Linked DNA regions of Homo sapiens: all the other regions are linked to region 3. The links are contacts of gene promoters, found by promoter capture Hi-C in blood cells and fetal thymus (Javierre and others, 2016). All regions are on one chromosome and are shown on one strand. The core of a region is centred on a gene start or on the middle of the fragment in contact, and the rest is flanking DNA. Distances in the headings are between cores, read along the strand shown.

Region 1 (4,564 bases), core at 770-3,269, 1.2 Mb before region 3:
TCTGGGAGCCATGAGATAACTTACCCACTAGCTAGGAGAAAGTGTGCTAGTCATTCTGCCCAGCTGTTTATTGGTGCATATTACTTACATGTAGGACTATGCTAGATGCTGGGAGAAATACAAAGATGCAGACAAACAACTTTTCTTCATAATACATGCTATCTTGTGGATGGGGCAAGCCACAACTAACTGCATTAAGAGTCAGAATAGCTCAGAGCTTGCCAAAGGGCACAGGCCCTGGAGTTTCCCTGAACAACTCCATCACTCTTGAGGGATGACCTCGGGGAAGATAGTACTTCACTTCTCTAAGCCTTGGTTTCCTTACCTGCGTGCACAGTTGGGGTTAATCTCAACTGGTCTGGATTGTTCATGCTCTTATGCAGGGAGCTACTGACCCTTGGCTAATGCTATAGTACTTATTAACTAAAGACAAATGCTATTCTGTATGGGTCTGTGAGTTGTTCTGGAGCAGGATGTATCAGTGTGTCATCATTGTTTAGAAATAACCGGATTTATGATTTGCATCTGGTTTCAGTAGAGGTTGGGAGCAGGGGGTGATGTTTCAACAGTTAAGGCTGGTCACATAGCTGAGATGTGCCTAGTGACCAGGTTATGGTGAGAGATTCCTTACCAAGAACGGACTTTGGACTTCCAGATGCTGATGGTGGTTTGAGACCTAGAGACTAAGTGAAGTTGGTATGACCCTACCCAGTGGAAAGAGGACAAGGAAACCTGTGCCTAACATTTTGGGACCATTTTGAATGCATGTCCTTCTCCTGCCATTGCCATAGGTATCTCTTGCCTGGTGATGATAAACGGAGCCTTGAGTCCTTTCAGCAATCAGACCCTTAGAATGATTAATGTGTAATTACTGGACTGAAAAATAGTAATAATGATAATCCCCACATTATACTGTTGTATTGAGAAAGAAATAAAACGATCTAGGGCTAGTTCTTGGATTCATGTCTGGCATGTTATAGGTGGTTAATGAATGATTGTTATAATATTTACCAAATAGTGCGTTTGGGATAAAACATGTTTTATCCCAAGCATTCAGAGGCAAAAACCAATCCTACAAATTATAGTGGTAATCGGAAATTTCATAGAAAGGGTGAAATTTCATACTGGCTTTGGATAATGTGTAGAATTCATGTGCAGAAAGAAGTGTAGAGGGACAGACAAAATAGGAGCAAAGTGCAGGATCAGGAAATACAATGGCATTTTTAAGAGACAGGTGAGGATGTAAGCTTGGCCAGAAAGAAAATATTATTAGGAGATGAATCCCCAAAGGTACATGGAGATCTTGTCTGACATTGTTTACAACAGCAAAAATTGGAGAAAATCCCAAATTCACATCCTCAAAGACAGTAGATGAATGATCTGTTATAGTCACACAAAATACTATAATGCGACACTCAGTGAATGAACTGTGATGATGTGCAGCAACACAGAGGAATCCTAACATAATATTGAGATAAATAACTAAAATAAAAATATATGCCTTTAAAAAACAGATAGACAGATCGAATAAGACCATGTTAAAAAGAGAGAGAAGGAAAATGCACACCATATTTAGGATGGTAGTTACCTTGGGAAAGGGGTAGCAGATAGAAGGGATGGGGACCACACAGCTAGATGTGACTGATTGCCAAAGTTTCAGCTTCCATATTGGCTGTTAGGTCCACAGGTGCTTGTTACATTATTAAAATACACACATACGTACATGCATAATTAATGGAGGAGAGATATGCAGAAACCATCAATAAGTGTGCCATGAGCCAAGGATTAAGATTAATACAATTCTGTGATCTTGAGGTCCCTCAGAGAAAAAAAAATACAAATAAAAGCAAAAGCAGGCCAGATGCAGCGCTCATGCCTGTAATCCCAGCACTTTGGGAGGCCAAGGCAGGAGGATCTCCAGAGGCCAGGAGCTCAAGACCAGCCTGCACAACAGAGTGAGACCTCTGTCTCTACAAAAAGATTTAAAAATTAGCTGAGTGTCATTGTGCAGTAGTAGCAGTAGTCCCAGCTATTCGGGAGGCTGAGGCGGGAGGCTAGCTTGAGCCTAGGAGTTTGAGGTTACAGTGAGCTATGATTATGCCACTGCCCTCCAGCCTGGGCAACAGAGCGAGAAGCTGTTTGAAAGGGAAAAAAAAGCAAAAGCACATAAATGTTTTTCTAACCCACACAATCCAAAATATTTATACTTTGTATACTTAATATTTGAAAAAATATTTATATACTTTAATATACTTAATATTTGAGAAAAATGGAATCCATCTCTGCAGCAGAGCATAATCCTCCCCAAACCTTCAATTTGCTACCTTTTATTTTACATTTCCCTTCAGCTAGACAATGGAAGATGTGAGTTTATTGCTGAACCAAAGTGCGAAATACACTTCCATCATGTTAAACTACTGAGATTTAAGAGTTGGGTTTGTTACTCCATCATTAAGTAGCCTGTACTGACTAATTCATCTACATTATGAAGACCTTATGCATTTCACATTCCAAACTTACAAAACAGATGTTACTCACATCACATAAAGAACTTGTAACTTTATCAACAGAGTTAATGATAAAATAATCATCTTTAATGCATCAAGAGAAAAGAACACCAGAACTGAAGTCATCCTGACAAGTTAATTCTTTGCATGGTGGTGTTAGGTGAAATTACTGACCCTGTTATGTTTCCATTTCTTTATGTATAAAATGGAATAATAGTAAAAGTTTTTATTTTTTTACAATGTGGCTCTGAATATTGAATGAGACAAGGTGTATGAAAGCTTTAACAAATATGGCCTTCTTTTGAGGATCTTATTTTTCTTTGGAGACACTACCTCCTTGAGAACCAACAGGCCAAATAAAATTAAATTGTTATATCCTCCAATAGTTAAAAGTAAATGAGAAATTATTAACTATTAATGAACAGAAACATATTGATTTGGTATATAACAGATTAACAAATATTTTTAAGAAATATAACGAATACATGTAAGTGAATTTCTCAATTTGACCACTAGATGGAAGCATTCTCCCAAAAATTGTGCACCTTTTTTAGGCCGTTTGTCTTCTAATGCAAACACGGTACCTCTCCAATGCAATAGCTTGAAGACACGTCTTACACTTAGGAATAAACACATAATAGGATATCCCTGGATCACAATAATGTAATGCATGATTTTTAAAAAGTGATTCAACCATTCTTTTCCTTGTTTTATTTTCTGCTGCAAAACACTTTAAAGATACACGATAACAAAACAGAGTAATGGAAAAGACATAATGGAGACCTAGAAATGGCCTACCAAACACACTAGACAGAATCACCTCCCAGTTTCTAACATTGTTTTCAACCACACCTTTACTTGTTATCCTTGGGCTTGGAATTTCTTGAGATCCTGTTTCCCAGGTGTTACCTTCTTGGTCAGGTCTTCCACTTCCCCTTTATCCTAAGGGCAGAGAAGACCATCTCCTCTGTGATTCTTCCCTACATCTCTGCACCCTGCGTGCACATCTCCAGTACAGCACGAGCCCATTGTCCAATAGTTTATTCATGTGTCTGTCTCCCAATCTCTCTGGGCACTTCTGAGCACAGGGAATGGGGTCTTTAGCCTGGCAGAGGTGCCTGTTACATACAGGGAACCAATAGCAGTTTGCTGAATGAACCTTAATCTTACCTGAATATGTATAAACACTGCTACCCATTGGACTAAGATATTGTCTGACTGGTCCAAAATGTATCAAAAAAAGCTGTCTTCTTCTTCCTCTCCACACTTTTCCAATGTTGTCCGCACCCACCCAGATGCAAGTGTTAAAACAATGCTTAAAGACAAAGTTTTAAACTTCCTAAGTTAATTACATTGTTTTTGTGAATGTGGAAAACGTTTTTAAGTTTAAAGTCATTATGTTAATTTTATGACAATAATGTAATATAGAATATGTAGACAATCTTATTTAAGAACTTTCTAGAACTTATTTTATGGTTAAAAACTAATGACGTAAGCAAAACCAAATATGGTGAGTTATGGAAATTGAAGAGCATCTGAAAAGTGCATGAAATATACCATCTTGATGATCCTTTTTTTTTTTTTTTGAGACAGAGTCTCGCTCTTGCTGTGTTGCCCAGGCTGGAGTGCAATGGTGCGATCTTGGCTCACTGCAACCTCCATTTCCCAGGTTCAAGCAATTCTCCTGCCTCAGCCTCCTGAGTAGCTGGGACTACAGGCACCTGCCACCACTCCGGGCTAATTTTTGTATTTTTAGTAGAGACGGGGTTTCACCGAGTTAGCCAGGATGGTCTCGATCTCCTGACCTCGTGATCTGCCTACCTCGGCCTCCCAAAGTGCTGGGATTACAGGCATGAGCCACTGCGCCAGGACCTTGATGATGCTTTTAAGAACATCTTATGAAGTTAGAATTTTCACCTACTTCACAAGAGGTAGTTTTCTTTTCTTCTAGCCAATTTTAAAAAGCTAACTAATCTAAGCTTGTTATAATGCTAAGTCCTGTGAGCTATCTTGATTTCCTTTGTGTACAACATTTGAAGGTTTTTATTAAGATTTAT
Region 2 (4,443 bases), core at 1,378-3,877, 1.2 Mb after region 3:
GTTAAGTACCTCCGATAATGTCTAACATCTCAAGGAACTTAAAGTATATATCCATATATAGGTCTTTTAAGCTTCAGTAATTTCTCATTTTCAGTATTATTTCCATAAGACTATACAGAAGATATATGTATGTACTTTTTTTTCCCACATACCAACAAAAGAGCATGCCAAAACATAATATACATAAAACCATACCTTGAACACCTTCTAGGAGTAAATCAACTCCCTTCCTATAAAAATCAGAAGCAGCTTCATAGTCGTCTTCTTCTTCCTTTTTTAAAGCCAGCTTTATTAATTCTCCTGCTTTCTCCAAATAATCTCTCTTGCCAAGCTTCGGCTTTAAACTGCCAGGAAAGAGGCTACGACTTTCCCGTTCTTCTTCTGTTTTGCTCTGTTCACTGTCAGAAGCAACAGCCCCTAGTGCTGAAGAATCCGAAGAAAGATTGAGACCAAAAGTTCTAATGGGAGAATTTTGATTGGAAGCCATTCCATCATCTAACTCAGCAAGAGAATCCACATCAACAGTAAGAGATACCAGATCACTGTCACTGGAGAAGCCTAGAAATATGATCACAATAGTAAACAGATATTAAATTGAGAATCAGCCAAACGAATACAAATCATGCTAATTATTCATTTTTCATATTATCCAAGTCAATTTGGAAGGCTGTAATTTACTGATGGAAGTCAGTGTCTAGCAATTTGTTTAGGCTTAGTCCATTCATTTTACTGTCTCTCTGTAACTCTGGAAGACAACTTCTTGCCTTAATCATCAAACTAAAATTGAAGACAAATCTTTATCTAGTTTGGTTGCCAAAAAGAGCCTTTACCACAAGATCCTGTAAGCTATTTACAGAAAGCTGTTGCCTGTACACATAGTTGCTATAAATAATAGCATTTTAATAAAGGAAAAAGCACTTGAATCTCAGCTCTCTTTTTTTTGTTTTGTTTTTGTTTTTGAGAACAGCATCTTGCCATGTTGCCCAGCTGCACTCCAACTCGTGGGCTCAAGCAATCCTCCCACTTCAGCCTCCCGAGTAGCTTAGATGGCATGAGCCACCAAGCCCAGCGCCAGCTCTTAAAACTTACTGTGTGACCAACAGCAGGTTACTTAATAGTATTACTTATTATGCAAGTCTTTAAATGAGGAATAGAGTTAATGCATATAAAGCATAATAGACTATCATTATATTATAACTTTTATAACAATTACATAAACAGGTTGAATATCCTTCATCTGAAATGCTCGGGACAGAAGTGTTTCAGATTTCAGATTTTCAGATTAGGGATACTCAACCTGTAACTATATAACAACTACACAATGCGTCCTCAGAAGTGTGCTTTTAGGTAACCATCCGTAACTGGAAAATGTATGCTATTTAGCATTTTTTAAAAACTGAATTTTTAGACATTTTCATCTCAGCCTCTTCTACAAGCTTCTGGAAAGGTATATTTCCACCTTAGTTTTCAGACAAAAAAGAGGTAATAGGTGCTACTGAATTATTTAGCAGTGAAAATTCCTTCTCCTAGTTCATATAACTGACATCATGGTAAATGAGCACGATCCACAATACATATCAGACTTTCTGCTCCCAGGACAGCCTTTTATATTCTTCAAAATGATTGTGGACTCTAAAAAGCTTTTGTTCATGTGAATTGTATCTGTGAATATTTATTAAATACCAATATTGATATTTACAAAAGAAGTCTAGAAATGTATAAAATAAAGCATTAAAGCCCCATTACATGTTAACATAATTTTTATGAAAAATAACTATATTTTCCAAAACAAAAAAAGTTAGTGAAAGAAGTGGCATTGTTTTACATTTTTGCACTGTTTTACATTGTTTTACATTTTTGTTAATGTCTGGATTAACAGCAGATAGCTAGAATCTCATATCTGATTCTGCTCACAATCTGTTGTCATATGTTGTTTTGGATGAAAGATATGAAGGAAATGTCACATAGATAATGTAACTGAAAAAGAAACAAGTATTAGCCTTTTCAAATAATTATGAATATTGTTCTTTGATACTACACCAAAACTCAACAAGTGATAGGTTTTTAAAGCTTAGTTGTAATGTGGAATATAAAATCCTATGAATGAAATTTCTGTTTCTGTTACATTCAAATCCATTGGTCTGTCTTGCACACTGAATGGATCTTTTATCTGTGCATGAATTTATAACATCACACATTGGTCATCCTGAAAATACTGGTTCCCTTAGTTATAAAGATCTTCGAAATGTTGACAGCACATTTCATTATCCCAAAAAATCATATGTCAACATTTCATTATCTACCAATCTCATCAGAAAACTAAGTATTGGGAAACTGTCAAACCCAAAGTGGCAGACAGAGGTTATCTGAAAATCCTAATTTTGAATTGAAAACTCCAATTTTATGATTGGCAACAAATAATATCAGTTGTTTTCCTTGAAGTGTCAGCTTACTTCACTCCCTTTCAAGAAAAAAAGTGCCAAATACACAAGTCTGAATAATGACAGTTTGTTAATTGTTCTTTCAAGCAAAATGGTGTCCCATGAAAAAAGCAGCTAGTTCAGCTAATGGCTCAAACAACTGCATAAGTGCTTTTCCTCAAGACGACCATGGTAGTTCAGTATGCAGAGTGCTTTATGTATAATTCTCATTTTTTCACACAGCATATTAAAAAGACAAGTGACAAGGGTTAAGATTTAACAAAATGTAACAGTTTCTACTACTTAGGAAAAATTAGCATTGGTTTTATAAGTATGTGCAATGAGTACTGTTACGGTTTGGTGACACTGCCTTGATTCATGCCCAAGCACAGCAGTTTCACCTACCATGGCTTTTGCATCATCAGGGCAAATGTCAATATGGTGAAAAGACAAAGAATGTCCTGGCATTATTATCAAAACAGTTTTGCTTTATGAACTCCCTGAAAATATCTCAGAAACACCCAGAGATCTGAAGATTACATTTGAGAGCCAGTGATCTATACCATTAAATAAGACTGACAACAGAGTTATATAAAAACTAGTTTGGAAATAACTGAGATCTGCATTCACCACTGAACATTATCTGCCAAGTTTCTCAGGAAAAAAAAATTAAAAAGAAAATGATATCCTCAGGATTATATACTAAATCAAAATTAAAAGTGGATTAGACTATACAATTCTAGATCAGGGATCAGCAAGCTTTTTCTATAAAGGGCCAGAAAGTAAATATTTTAGGCTTTGCAGGCCATATGTGGTCTCTGTCACCACTCAACACTGCCATTGTAGTGCAAAAGCAGCCATAGACAATATATAAATGAATAAGCATGGCTGTGTTCCAGTAAAACTTTATTTACAGACATTGAAGTGTGAATTCCTTATAATTTTCCCATCACAAAACCACAAAATCATATTCTTTTAATTTTTTTAACTATTTAAAAATGCAAAAACCATTCTTAGTTTTCAGGCCATACAAAAACAGGTGGCAGGCCAGATTCAGCCCATAGAACATAGTTTTGCCAACCCCTATTTTAAATTCAAATTGCCTACTTCATATCAAATAAAGTAAGTTAGGGTAAAAACATGTTACTGGCCACTAAGCTCAAATTTCTAATCAGCTTTAGATGCTGCTTTGGCACCCTGTCAATATATATCCTCATTTTCAACTTTTTTTCAACTTCTTAGAATGCCCCAAAAGAACAAATTCTATTCCCAAAAAGCAACAGATTTCATTAAACCGACAATCTCAAATGAGATTCATTGAGCCTAGTGAAAATCTTTTCAGTCCTCTGACATTTCAGCCATACGGACAGTAACAGTACTTCATAATAAGAATCTTTTATAGCAATCTACAGTTATTTATCTACTATCCTAAGAAATATATATAAATTTTATGAGATTTTTCTTGTCATTTTAAATATTTTATGTATTTCAATGTAAACTTATTTCCTTAAATGATGCCAATATATAATCTAGCCCATTGAAACTGATAAACAAATAGATAAGGTTGAAAAAAGTTCTGGTTTATATAGCTAATCACAAAAGAAAGGAAATGCTGTATTAGAGATCTCTTTTGTCTGTTCTCTGGTATCTTGTCACTATAACCTTCACACCATCTATCACATTGTTCTGTTTCATGTTTTGCCCCATTTTTCCTTTTAACAATAACAATAACACCAAAGGGCAAGCGGGCAAAGTTATGTATACTCTGTTTCTTGGCTTTTGACCACAAAAAACTGGTACCATAGTCATATTTCCTCTTACCTTTCAAATCATATTTTATTAGCAATGAGAATCATGATTAAATGAGATTAGATCAAAAAAGTAAGACCATTAAAATACCTAGAGAGAAAGATAGTAAGATTAAGTAAATAAACATTCTATACAAAGCATTCCTTTTCAAATTCTAAATAATTTCTTAATTCGGCATCTTTAAAAGCAAGCAAACACACACACACACACACAC
Region 3 (4,616 bases), core at 220-2,719:
TTATTGTAGAATGAGGCACACAGGTCTGAGAGATTGAGTATGCTGGACTTGAGACCTGTACTCAAAAGGTCCCTGCAGGACCGCAGGTCAGCTTAATCCAGCCCAGGAATCTCCATTTCAAAGATGAAGAAACTGAGGTTCAAAGAAAGCAAATCATGGTCTCTACTCAGAGTACTGGAAGGCCTGATATAAACTTAACCCCAATGCCATGCCTCCTGCCTTAGTAAATTTACTGAGCACCTAACCAGTGAGAAATAGGCAGAAGTGAATAAGGCCAGATTTCACTCCCTTCACTACTGGTGTGAATGGATAAAGGTAACTCCACTTTCTCTCTGGGCTTTAGTTTTCTCATCCATTAAGTGAAAGACAAGACTGAATTGGTGATTTCTAATGTGCCTTTAAGCTCTGAAACTCTCATAAGAGTTGAGGATATAATTATGTGTTGGTGTGTGCAAATGTATATGCATCATATATACAAACACAGACACATATATACATATGGTATCTTACAATTAAATACCATTAGCAACCACACATCTTGCCCAATCCCTTCCTGCGACCATGTTTTCCTAATCCCAAACCGAAACTGGACACTGCAACTCATCGTCGCAGCACCTCAGAATCCAGGGGGTGTGGTCAGTGCCCACTGGCGTCCCTCCAAACACCCATGTAAGCGTACTTTAACATGTAAGCGTACTTTACAAGACATATACTAAGTCATTAAATTCCTTGGAAGAAACGGCCAATCTGAGGCAGGGCTGGACTGTGGGTAACAGAACACACCGCAGGAAGCATAAGTTAAAGGTGACAGCCCGTGGCTGCCCAAATTTGGGGCTCCGCTGCCAATGCACCGGGAGGGCAGTGAGTGCCCAGGCTTGGAACAAGCCTGGCTCGGAGCCCACATTTGAGGGCAGGAACCTGCACGCCCGGGTTTGCGCATCCAGCGTGAGCAACTCTGAAAACGTGCAGTGCAGGGCGTGCAGCGGGGCACCGGTCCTGTTTCCTCTCGCACGTGGCGCCTGGCGTGGGGCTGCAGCGCGGGGCCGCAGCGCGGGGCCTCCTCCCCTCCCCGCCCCCCACCCCGCCCCAAGGGCCGGCGCTAGGACCCCGCGAGCCGCACGCACTTCCTGGCGCCGCCGTCCAAGCCTCCCGCTCGGCGCCCCCGGCTCCCGCCCGCCGCCGCCGCCGCCGCCGCCCTACCTGGTGAAGCAGTACTCGCAGTGGTTGCCCCGCTCGTTGACCGTGAGCACGTAGGCATAGGCCGGGCAGGAGAACAGCAAGTCCCCCACCTGGAAGGGCTGCAGAGCCCGCAGCCCCCGGCCTTTGCCCGGGCTGCAGAAGCGCTCCAGGCCGCCGAGGCCCTCGGCCCTCATGGTGGCGGCGGGGCGCGGCCGCCGGCTGTGCCCGAGCTGCGGCTCCCGGCGAGCTGTTATTGGAGACGCGTCACCTAGAGCTGCGGGGGGCGGGGTGGGAGCCGCCCGGCGGACGCGGCGGCGGCTCCCCGCTCCCCGGAAGGGAGGGCGGCCCCGCCCGGGCCTCGCGCGCCCCCGCGGGGAGGGGGACGGGCCCGGCGGCCCCGCCTAGCGCCGCGACCCTCGGCGGCCGCCCCGCGCGCGCTCCGGGCCGTTTCCGGTGTGGCCGCGACAAAGAGCCGCAGCCCCTGTGGCTTCTGCGAGGAGGCGTGAGGCGTGTGCGCCTCCGCGGCGTCTCCACGGAGCGAGCGGGACGCGCCCTCCTCCTCGGTGGGAGGGAGGGGGGTCACCTGCGGGGACCAGGTATCCGAGGGCCACCCCTAGACAGTCAGCCTGGCCCGAAGGATGACCAGCCCCCGGTAAATAGAAGGGGGCGAAGCCAGCTCCGAAACCTTACGTTCGCTGTCCCTTGTAAAGACCCTAGAGGCAGTGATCGGGGAACGCCAAGGAGAAAGCGGCAGAGGGGAAACCACAGTAGAGAAGTTTGGTGTGCAGAGGGTTGAAGTGTGCTTTTCCAAGGTTAGAGGTTTTTAAACCTTGTGGCTTTAATGGGAACGTAGTTTGCCCTCTGCTCCTCTAGTGGAATTACATGGACGGAAGAGGAAATGCATTGGCCGGCCCAGCTCACCGAGTCTCTGAGGCATGCTGCGAACGTTGCAGAGGAAGCCAGAGAGAACCTTGCCTTCAAGGAATTTAGGCTGTTGGGGGATAATGCGATGCTGTGGCCAGTGTCCAGGACACTGCGCTAGAGTTTGCAGTAGTTTTAATATGCTTGACCACCCACGAACTGTGATCTTAGAAAAGTCACTTGGGTTAGGAGTCAAAGGATTTAAAGCCCACAAAGCCTGAAACGTAAATCCTATACACATGCACGCTATTACTTTTCATATGAGAAAGGAAAATATAATCCGTGTTCCACATGATTATGTAAAGACTGGAATTGATGTACATGCAGTAAAGACTAAAATTGTGACGAGATCATTTAGCAGAAACCACTACTTCAAAATAGGACCTCAAACAGTTACCTGTGTAAGTTCAGGACTGGTTGAGCAAAGGGAAAGGATTAATATGATTGGAGATGTAAAATCAGTGGAATTTTTGGCATTTCAGTAAAATGTCTTTATCAGCTGGGTGTGGTGGCTCAGCCCTGTAATCCCAACACTGTGGGAGGCCAAGGTGGGAGGATCATTTGAGCCCAGGAATTGGAGAGTTGGAGACCAGCTTGGGCAACATAAAGACCCCGTCTCTATGGGAAATTAACCACCTCTCAAGTGGTGCTGAGGTGGGAGGATAGCTTGAGCCTGGGAAGTCAAGGTTGCAGTGAGCTGTGGTGACTCCATTATACTCCAGCCTGGGTGACAGAGCAGGACCTTGTCTCAAAAGAAAACAAAAAAGCCCTTATTAGTGGCAAACTAAATAAGCCTCTAACCCGTCTTCAAGTAAAGGAAGTTATGATAGTATTTTCATTTATGCATTTTAAGAAACTTCGACTGACTATGGCCAGCAACTGGGATAGAAAGATGGACATCAGCCGGCTGTGGTGGCTCACGCCTGTAATCCCAGCACTTTGGGAGGCCGAGGTAGGCGGATCACCTGAGGTCGAGAGTTCAAGACCAGCCTGACCAACATGGAGAAACCTCATCTCTACTAAAAATACAAAATTAGCCAGGTGTGGTGGTGCATGCCTGTAATCCCAGCTACTCGGGAGGCTGAGGCAGGAGAATCGCTTGAACCTGGGAGGTGGAGGTTGCTGTGAGCCAAAATCGCACCATTGCACTCCAGCCTGCGCAAGAAGAGCGAAACTCTGTCTCAAAAAAAAAAAAAAAAAAAAAGTGGACAAAATGTAGTCCTAGGTCCTTGCATTTGGCACATTCAAGTTTGATAATACCATTAGTTATTGAGTATTGTTGACCAGGCATCGTGCTCCATCATTAAACACATTATCTGGTTTATCTTTACAACAGGCTAATGAGTTAGGTATTATGCCCCTCATTGCCAAAATTAGGAAGGAAACTAAGACCCAGAAGGAATGATTTTCAAGGCCACACAATAAATTGCAGAATTTGGTTTCCAAGTCAGTCTGAATTCAAGGTCCATGTTCCTAACCACAGTGTTTTGCTGCAAACAAACACAGTTCACTGGGATAAGTGCAGTTATGGTGGCTTGTACAAAATGTTCTGTGGTAGTACAGGCAGGGAGTGACAGCTTTAGCCTGCTAAACAGTCAAGACAGGCATCACATTCAAGTAACGTTAGAGCTGAGCCTGAAGGATGGACAGGATTTTGCAAGTGGAGGTGGGGAGAAGAGTTTTCTGGGCAGAGAGAACTGCGTACAAAGACAGAAGACCCTGAAAGCACAGAGCTTGTAGTTGGGGGCCCCTGAGCATCTGGAAGAGAGGACAGGAAATGAGGCAGGAACAGCTGAAGAGCATCTTCTCCAGAGGTGAGTTCTGCCCCAGAGGCCATGGGAGAGCCAGTTAAAGCGTTTAAGTGAGGGGTGGCACATTGAGTCCAGTGTTTTAGACTGATCTGCCAGCAGCATTGTGGGTTGGCTGGGGTGCCAACATTCAGCACTTCATAACTGTTTACATGTATATAAACAGCCTTGGCATGTGAGACCACTGACAGTTTGCATTTGTCTGTGTGATGACCTGATTAGTGTTTACATCCTCCACCAGACTGTACAAGCTCCATGAGGGCAGGGAATGAGTCTGTTTTTGTTACCCTTACATCACCAGCTCTTATCACTACTCCTGGAACACAGAGAGAATGGAAAAAATATTTAAAGGTTGAATAAACGTCATGGAATCTCATTCTGATTTCTGGGGGCTCTAACCAGCAAAAAGATGAAAAGACTGACGTAGAAGTAAACAATTACAATACAGTAGACAGTTTACTGTTTCAATGATTAATTGTGCAAAGTAATCTACCTGTTTACTTTTTTTATTGCAAGTAACTTTTTCCACTTTAATTGGGAAAGATTTCCACAGCTGAGAAAAAAGCAATTACATAGCTACCGAATTATCTTTCCAGATGAGTGCTGGCTTATTCTTGAGGGTGGAGGTGACTGTGATTTGAGAACACTGGAAAAGAAACCGCCTCATTTCAGAAAAATCCCTGTGATGAACTTAAATGACTCGAGATG

Evidence for each region. The method cuts DNA at HindIII sites, captures the fragments that hold promoters and counts their contacts. A CHiCAGO score of 5 or more calls a contact.
Region 1: a contact is called between a fragment that was not itself captured here and the fragment with the promoter of SMYD2 in region 3, in 4 of 17 cell types (naive CD8 T cells, M2 macrophages, activated CD4 T cells and 1 more). The highest score is 7.3, in naive CD8 T cells.
Region 2: a contact is called between a fragment that was not itself captured here and the fragment with the promoter of SMYD2 in region 3, in 2 of 17 cell types (M0 macrophages and M2 macrophages). The highest score is 6.9, in M0 macrophages.

The regions. Positions count from the first base shown.
Region 1 is chr1:215,525,205-215,529,768 of GRCh38, reverse strand. No RefSeq gene overlaps it. Among named protein-coding and RNA genes, the nearest start is that of KCTD3, 40 kb to the left of the region's middle. The HindIII fragment of the contact is 1,539 bases long and covers 1,250-2,788 here.
Region 2 is chr1:213,125,642-213,130,084 of GRCh38, reverse strand. It overlaps RPS6KC1 (ribosomal protein S6 kinase C1), which reads right to left. Exons shown (of 15, transcript NM_012424.6): 6 at 196-558. Among named protein-coding and RNA genes, the nearest start is that of RPS6KC1, 77 kb to the right of the region's middle. The HindIII fragment of the contact is 1,109 bases long and covers 2,073-3,181 here.
Region 3 is chr1:214,278,012-214,282,627 of GRCh38, reverse strand. It overlaps SMYD2 (SET and MYND domain containing 2), which reads right to left and starts at 1,469. Exons shown (of 12, transcript NM_020197.3): 1 at 1,201-1,469. The coding sequence starts at 1,373. It overlaps LOC124904509 (a long non-coding RNA gene), which reads left to right and starts at 1,592. Exons shown (of 2, transcript XR_007066876.1): 1 at 1,592-3,914. RefSeq lists silencers at 1,050-1,209, 1,240-1,359, 1,380-1,669 and an enhancer at 1,949-2,514. The HindIII fragment of the contact is 17,351 bases long and covers 1-4,616 here.